Regions from separate parts of the Homo sapiens genome. Here regions 2 and 3 are each linked to region 1. The links are contacts of gene promoters, found by promoter capture Hi-C in human tissues and cell types (Jung and others, 2019). All regions are on one chromosome and are shown on one strand. Each heading gives the region's core, a stretch centred on a gene start or on the middle of the fragment in contact. The rest is flanking DNA. Distances are from core to core; before and after follow the strand shown.

Region 1 (2,700 bases), core at 150-2,649:
GACAGTGCTGGCCAGGCCGAGGGAGAACTTCTGGAGCCAAGGTAACCCCTAAAGGATTCTGGTCTTGTGAGGAGGGGCCTGGCTTCCCCCTGGGAGCTGCTGGCTTGGAAGCAGGAGGCATTGCCCAGGTGAGAGTTCGGCATGGACCCAGGGGAGTGGCACACGGTGCCCGCCGTCAGCTGTGCTCAGGAGCAGCAGGCAGGAGCCCTGGACTCATGGCTACCATGTGGCTGCCACACTCAGGCACACTTAGGCACATACACTCACACTCAGGCACACTTAGACACACACATTCACACTCAACCTCAGACGCAGACACACACCACACACTCACAGATGCACACAGTCTCAGACACAGACACACACCACACACAGATACACACACCACAGACTCAAACTCAGTCTCAGACACAGACACACACCACACACTCAGATGCACACACCACACACACTCAGTCTCAGACACACACACACACCACATTTGCAAACCTGCTCATCAGAAGAGGGACCTCGCCCCCAGCCGCTCCGCCACCTTCCAGGACAGCTCTGAAGGGAGCCCTGTCCCGGAGCCCAGGGACCTCTCCCCAACCCGGCTGCGCCTCACCTCAAGGAGGAACCCCGGCCCTGGCTGGGGGACTGTGACCAGGGTGGGGAGTGGGGACCCCAGACAGAGCCCTACCAGGGACCCCTGTCACTCTGTCCCCGGCTGGGCTCAGGTGGGGACCTCACGGTGGTCCCAGGGCCCAGCACCAAGCCCACCTGTGGTTTCCAGCGGGAAAGGGGTGGCAGGGGTGGCTCGCCGCATGCCCAGGCTCTGCCCCAACCTCCGCGCCCAGGCTCTGCTGTCCCTGCCCTCCCGGCTCCCCACCCTCAGGCCCCAGGAGCGGCAGTTTCTGCAGGAGCTCCTGACCCGGGGCCTCTCGCGGGAGGCCTGAGCAAGCCGGACACAGGACACGGGGTAGGGGAGGGGTCGGGGGGCTGATGGGGGGAACCCTGCACCCCCCAGGGCAGCTGCTACCAAGGGGCGAGTCCCAGGGCCCCCGTCGGCCCTGCGTGCGGGGCGCGGTCCCCAACACCCAGGGCCCCGGAGGCGGACACAGCCCCAGCCAGGTCGTCCGGGAAATGGGGCGGGGGCGACGGGCGGCCGGGCCCGGGACGCGAAGTCCGAGCAGCAGCGGGCAGGGGCTGGCGGGGGAGCTCGGCCCGGGCTGCAGGGGGGTCCCCACCCTCTCCACCTCCTCCAGCCTCCCGCCCTCGAGGGTCCCCGCTTCCCTCCCATCCCCCTCCCGTGCCCCCGGCCCCCTCCTCCCATCCGCGGGGCCGCAGCGCTTCCTGGCGGCGGGGCGGGTCAGGCCGGCGGGGCGGGGTATAAAGGGGGCGGCGCCGGCCGCGGTTCCCTCCCTGCTGCTTACTCGGCGCCCGCGCCTCGGGCCGTCGGGAGCGGAGCCTCCTCGGGACCAGGTGAGCGCCTCCCGGACCCCGCACCCTGGAAGCCGCTCGGCCCGCGGGGGGTGACCCCGAGTCCTGGGAAGGCGGCGGCGGCGGCTCCGTCCCTCGGGTCCCCGGGAAGGGGGACTCCAGCCCCAGGGACGGCGGGGGGCTCGGCGGGTTCGGGGCTCCTCCTCGCGGGGCTGGGGCCGCGCCTGCCCCTGTGGCTCCGCGTCTCTGGGTCCGACCCTCGGGCGCGCGACTTGGGGCCACCTCCCCGCGGCCTCCTCTGGGGCGGAGCCGGCCTGGGCGGGGTGGGGGGGTCCCTGTCTGCGCCCGAGCTCGGTGCTGGGACCCCCGCTCCCGAGACGACCCCGGCACCGCACGCCCCGCCAGGCCCCGCGTCTGCGAGCGGTTCGGGTCCGGCTCCGGCCCGCGGGGAAGACGCCCCGGCTGGCTGGGACCTCCGGGGGCGCAGGGCCTCTCCCCGGGCCGGACGGAAGGGGCGGCGGGGCGGGGGGAGGAGGGGCTTTCGGTGCCCGAGGGCGGGACTGGGCGGGGAGGGGACGCGGGTGGCCCCGACGCCCCATCGCTGCGCCCCTCCCGGCCTGGAGCCCACCAGGGCCCCGCCAGGCCCAGGAGAAGCTGCAGACGGAGGCGGCTCCCCAGGGCGGCGGGACCCGGGCTGACAGCGACCCGCAGCCCCTGCCGGGCCGCCCACACCCGCCCTGGGACTCCGCCGGGGCGCTGGTGGAACCGCTGGGCCTGGGTCTCCACTGCTGGCAACCGAACGGATCGGCCCTCTGTGGAGCCGCAGGTGTGCGGGCGAGCGGCGCCCATCCGGGCTGTGCCAGCAGAACCCCGGTGCCCGCGCCTAGGACGCCCCTGGAGAAGGGACCTTCCCTTTGGGGTCGGAACCCAGAAAGGAGGGGCCTGCGATCCGCGGAGCTCCTTGTTCTTGGGATAACACAGCTCTGGCTTGGAGGCCCCCTTGCACTTCGACTCTGGTGATTATTTCAAGAAAGGCCAGACCGGGCACGGTGGCTCACGCCTGTAATCCCAACACTTGGGGAGGCCGAGGCGGGCAGATCACCTGAGGTCAGGAGTTCGAGACCAGCCTGGCCAACAGGGTGAAACCCCGTCTCTACTAAAAATACAAAAAAAAATTAGCCGGGCGTGGTGGCAGGCACCTGTAATCCCAGCTAATCGGGAGGCTGAGGCAGGAGAAAATCACTTGAACCTGGGAGGCGGAGGCTGCAGTGAGCTGAGATC
Region 2 (2,700 bases), core at 129-2,628, 48 kb before region 1:
TGAGGGGTCTTTTTGGGGTGGTGGATGTTACTGATGATATGAGGGGTCTTTTTGGGGTGATGGATGTTACTGATGATATGAGGGGTCTTTTTGGGGTGATGGATGTTACTGATGATATGAAGGGTCTTTTTGGGGTGATGGATGTTACTGATGATATGAGGGGTCTTTTGGGGTGATGGATGTTACTGATGATATGAGGGATCTTTTTGGGGTGATGGATGTTACTGATGATATGAGGGATCTTTTTGGAGTGATGGATGTTCTCTGTCTTGATTGTGTTCATGGTCACACAGTTATATAAATTTGCCAGAACTCATCAAGCTATACACTTTAAGTGGGTGCATCTTCCTGTATGTAAACGGCACCTCCCCAGAGATGATTCTTCAAAGCCCTCCTCCTTTTCTAACCTCCTCCTGGGCTTGCTGTAACTTTGTGGTCCCTGACAGCTGCACCCACCGCCCTCCATGCCCTCTACCCTGCTGACCAACTCCCCGTCCACCTTCTCCCAGTTGGCCCAGCTCAAGGGGCAGCCCCCTGCATCGAAAGCAGTTAGGGCCTCCTCCTCCGGCACCACCTGGGAAAAGGTGACTGTGGCCTCTGGAAAGGCTTCCTGGCTCCGGTTGCCAGGAAGAGGCATTCGCACTGCCTCCCTCCTCTGTCCCAGACAGCCCCAGGGCCTCTCACTAAGCCCAGCTGGCCGAATCCGTGCAAAGCTCCTCTCCAAACCGACTTGAGTAACTTCTCTGGCTGAAAATGGGAAGCAGTTGCATAACCAGACATCTGCGGATCCAATTCCTGAGAAAATGTAGGCAGATGCGCCGGACAGTTAGGAGAGGCCCTGAGAAGATGAAGACACGGGCCGGAGGCCACACTTGGCCTGTCTCCCGTTGGCCTGACACATTTTGCAGCTGCTTATCAGGGGGTTAGGAGAACGCTGAATAGGAGGCTGGGGAGGCCAATTCCACAGCGTATGACACACGCGTACCACTGCTTCCAAGGGAATTCATCAAACCAGTTCTTTGCGTAATCGCCTAATGCTTCCTCCTGGGGGAGGGGATTTGTTTATTGATCTTCTTCCCTTCCTATAGATCTGTTGTTCATAGGCATGAGGTGAACACGCGCATTTTCCAGCCAGGAGAACGTTCCGCTCAGCACGCACACCTGGAGACAGCCCAGCCCTGAGCAGGAAATGCCTGCTGGGCTTGAAGAGGGCTTCCTGGGGTGTGATGGATGATTGGGTTCTTTTTAAAGAATAGGAGGCCCCAGTCAGCTTTCCAAGTCCCACACACAGGAGGTCGGGGGGACAGGCCCCTGGCCAGCTCCCATCCTGCTGTGGTCCCAGCACCCCCAGACCTCCCGGCAGCTGACCCAGACTCTTGGGACCTGGCACCCTCATCCCTGGAGGTCAACACTCCAATGTCCGCTGGGCGTCTGACCTGGAGGACAGGGCTCCAAGGCACAGCCCATGGCTGAGAGTGAAGAAACGGCGCCCTCATGGCGGACCCTCCACCAAGCGGCCAGTGAACGAAGTGTGTTTGTACGGGAGGGCTTCCAGCCGCCGCGACCCCCACCATCGAGAAACCATCCTCTGGGCCCACCGCAGAACTCACTGTGCCCACAGCGGGGCTCTCTGGGGAGGGTCCTCGGAGCACAGTGGCGAGTGGACGGCACCCTGACCATCCCGGGCAGGCTTTCCAAACTCGGCTGGTGGACAGCTTCCCTGCTGGGTCCCTGAAGTGAGGCCAGGTCACCCACAAGCCAGGAGCATTGGCCGCACCCTGGCAGCCCTTGGCATCCTCTCTCATTGGGGCGTCACGTTGTCCCAGGGAGCCAGGCTGGTGACACTGGGGTCTGGAAAGAGGGGCCTAGCCCTGTCACACACACTGTCAGCCCTCCAAGGTGGCACGGGGACGGCGAGGCCGACAGCTGCTTGTGCGGAACTGGGCTGGTCCCATCGGCTCTGGAATCAGACCCCCTGAGGCTTGGAAATAAGATGGACCGGGGTCAGGCGATGCTCAGTTGAAGGCAGACACCGCTCCCCACTTTGCTCCACAAGCACAAGCTCTTCCCAGCCAAGGCACAGCAGGGCAGGGGCCGCCAGGCACAGTGAAGGGGGCCAGGGCCTGCAGTCCCCCATCCAGAGCTGGGCAGGGAGCCATGCAGGCTGCGAGGTGGGGTGGCTGCTGCAGCTCCCAAGGGGTCTGGTGTGGACTAGAGGGCGAGTGGAGAACCTGGGACCTCTGCAGGGCGCACAGCCATTTCCACACACAGCCCACTTCAGACCACTTGCTGCGGTGGTCACTGGTGGTCAGCCCATAGCAAAGCGTCTGGCCCTGTGCCCCCACCCTGCCAGCACCAGGCTGGACAGTCCCCAGCGGCTGCACGGTGGCCTGGGCAGCTGTGATGGGAGAGGCCCCCACAGACGAGGCCCCAAGTCGGCTCCTGGCTCTGCCCTGGACCGGCTCTGGGTTCTCGAGAGGCTGGCCCAGCCCTGCGCTGCTCTGAGCCATGCGGACCCCGTGGGGAGGACCCCATACTGCAGATCCCTCACCGGTAGCCCCCACTCCAGGCCAGACTGAAACACCGCGGTGGGCTCCTGGAGCACCCCCCACGCCCGGGGCTGGCTGGCCTGGGAGGAGGGGACACAAGAACTTGGGACGGCAGTTCTCAAAATGCAGTCTGGGGACCGCAGAGGTTCCT
Region 3 (2,700 bases), core at 153-2,652, 57 kb after region 1:
GGAAGCTACCCGGGCAGCGTTGAGGGCCCCCTCCACCACGCACTCCGGCGGCCCCACGAAGGTGTACACGGTGCGGTTGGTGGAAGGGCCTGCGTCCACATCCAGCAGCACGCAGCCCGGGGTCTGTGTGATGGCTCCAGAGATGGCGTCGATCACCTGGGACACAGGCCCGGCCCCCACACCTCAGTCTCCCCGTTTGAAAGAAGGAAAAGGAGCTTGGAGGTGGCTGCACCCCGAGACACAAATGGGGGCTGAGGAGGCGGGCCAAGCCTTTGGGGGCTCTCCGACAAGCTGAGCTCCCACCGAAAGTGCCCGCACACAGCGGCCGCCCGGGAACCCTCACAGCAGCCACAGTCACTCCAGCCCAAGCACAGTCCCCACAAGGGGCTGCAGGTGGTGCCTCCAGGAGAGACTCACGGGCTCTGCTCCGACAGACAGATGCCAGAGACGTGGCCGGGGATCCAAGAAGGTGACCACAGGCGCAGGTCACAGAGGGGCCGGGACCCCCACCCCCGAGCAGGGGAGGGACAGATCACCAGCATGGGGGAGGGGCCTGAAGGGCCTAGAACCTTCCGGGTGGCAGGACTGCTGGGAGCAGGGGCTCAGCCCCAAATCTTGCCCTGTCCCAGGGCCTTGGTGCTGGCTGGAATCCCGGCATGACGAGGCCTCCCTGCACCCCTGCGGGTGACCCCTGTGGCCTGGTGCTGCGCTCTGGGAGGCCTTCCAGGTGGCCCTTAGGGCCTGCGTTTGTTCCCGGAGGAGCCTGGACCTCAGGGCTGTGGAAGGCGAGAGGCCGGACCTGGGGGCCTGCTGCCCCCTCTGTGCCTACTTCGTTTTGGGTCCAGTGAGGATGGTGGCTGCAGGGTGGGGGCTCAGCAAGCTAACTCCAGTGGAGATGGAGAGGCGGCAGTGGGGACCATGCTGGGCCACCTCGTGTGGCCTCACACAGCCCTTTCAGTCAGTGGCAGGAGCCCCATTTTCAGGGGGGAGCACCAAGGCCCTTTGAGGCCCAGAGATCTGCCCAACCCCCCACCGAAAGCACCCGAAAGGCCCCTGAAGCCACAGCCAAGCCTCAGCCCCCACAAGCACCAGTCGTGTTCCACCCACCCCTGGGTCAGGCACTCCCCAGGGCCCTGAGCCACGGGATGTCCTTGGGGCCCACGGGCAGCGGCTCTGCCCATCCTGGGAAGACGACCCGGGACACCAAGCCCACCACCTCCTCCATGGCCTGGGCCTTAGCCACTCAAGCTGCCCCATCAGCCCTAGATGCTTGACCAGCTCCTCGGGCCTCACCTCCTGGTTCTTCCCCTCCGAAAAGTTGGGGACGCATTCCACCAGCTGGGACATGGCCAGCACCTTGATCCAGATGCTCCTCTCTGGGCAGATGGAAGGACAGGGCCAGTGCTCCGCAGCCGCCGCCAGGGCCTTTATACGCTCACCGGCAGCACCTCCCCACCGGCTTCTCATTAACCAGCAAGGCACAAGGAGCAGTGGGGCCAAGGTCCCTGTGCAGCCGCGGAGTGGGGTGCTGCAGAGCCACCCCGGGTGCTGTTGACCCAGAGGGGATGGCTCCACTCAGCCAGAGTGTGGGTTCCCGGAAAAGAAGCACATGCCAGGGTGAAGGGGCATGTGCCGAGGACCCCCAGGAGCATCAGGCCAGCCTGGCTGGAATCCTGTCGTGACGAGGCCTCCCTGTGCCACTGCGGGTGACCCTCGTGACCCTGTGCTGCCTTCTGGGAGGCCTTCCAGGCAGCCCGTGGGGCCTGCGTTTGTTCCTGGAGGAGCCTGGACCCCTGGGGCTGTGGAGGGCGAGAGGCCAGCATGAGGCCCTGGCTCGCAGCACCCAACTGAGGTCAGCTCAGCTCAGACAGGAGAGTGCAGGGGAGCACGCGTGTGAGAGTGAGTGAGGATACACGTGAGGGCAGGGCAGGGGAACACGTGAGAGTGCAGATACACGTGAGCACAAGGCAGGGGAGCACATGTGTGAGAGCGTGGATACATGTGAGCACAGGACAGGGGAACACGTGTGAGAGTGAGCGAGGATACATGTGAGTGTGGGGTAGGGGAGCACACGTGTGAGAGTGCAGGTACACGTGAGCATGGGGCAGGGGAAGCAAGCATGTGAGAGTGAGTGCAGATACATGTGAGCGCAGGGCAGGGGAACACGCGTGTGAGAGTGCAGATACACACGAGACGGGCATGTGCGATATGGGGGAAGGCAGCTGAGACCCCAGCTCTCCCCAGCTGCTGCTCCCCTGACTACAGGCTCCCCACGAAGTCAGCGGCACCAGGGCCGTGCTCAGAAGGGAGAACTCCTGTCTCCACGTTCAGCCGCTGCCCACTTGCAGTGCTTTTATCATTTTCTCTTTTTTTTTTTTTTGAGACAAAGTCTCACTCTGTCAGCCAGGCTGGAGTGCAGCGGCACAATCATGGCTTCCTGCAGCCTTGGTCCCCAGGCTCAAGAGGTCCTTTCACCTTAGCCTCCTGAGCATCTGGGCCACAGGCACACACCACTACACTGGCTAACTTTTCCATTTTTGGTAGACATGGTGATATGGTTTGGCTGTGTCCCCACCTAAATCTCATCTTGAATTGTAGAGCCCATAGTTCCCACGTCATGGGAGGGACCCGGTGGGAGGTCACTGAATCACGGGGGCGGCTTTTTCCGGTGCTGTTTTTGTGATAGTGAATGGTCTCACG

Evidence for each region. The method cuts DNA at HindIII sites, captures the fragments that hold promoters and counts their contacts. A contact is called where the count stands out against the background at its distance.
Region 2: a contact is called between a fragment that was not itself captured here and the fragment with the promoter of COL6A2 in region 1, in 6 of the 25 tissues and cell types used here (IMR-90 fibroblasts, aorta, heart left ventricle and 3 more).
Region 3: the fragment with the promoter of FTCD here is called in contact with the fragment with the promoter of COL6A2 in region 1 in 4 of the 25 tissues and cell types used here (heart left ventricle, heart right ventricle, mesenchymal stem cells and 1 more).

Annotation. Positions count from the first base shown.
Region 1 is chr21:46,096,713-46,099,412 of GRCh38, forward strand. It overlaps COL6A2 (collagen type VI alpha 2 chain), which reads left to right and starts at 1,400. Exons shown (of 28, transcript NM_001849.4): 1 at 1,400-1,461. COL6A2-DT (COL6A2 divergent transcript) reads right to left here and starts at 933. Exons shown (of 2, transcript NR_186433.1): 1 at 760-933. RefSeq lists an enhancer at 1,223-1,517. The HindIII fragment of the contact is 26,496 bases long and covers 1-2,700 here.
Region 2 is chr21:46,048,625-46,051,324 of GRCh38, forward strand. No RefSeq gene overlaps it. Among named protein-coding and RNA genes, the nearest start is that of COL6A2-DT, 48 kb to the right of the region's middle. RefSeq lists enhancers at 689-1,399, 1,400-2,110. The HindIII fragment of the contact is 3,563 bases long and covers 1-2,700 here.
Region 3 is chr21:46,154,177-46,156,876 of GRCh38, forward strand. FTCD (formimidoyltransferase cyclodeaminase) reads right to left here and starts at 1,403. Exons shown (of 14, transcript NM_206965.2): 1 at 1,294-1,403; 2 at 1-156. The coding sequence starts at 1,347. RefSeq lists enhancers at 1-472, 473-1,176. The HindIII fragment of the contact is 26,017 bases long and covers 1-2,700 here.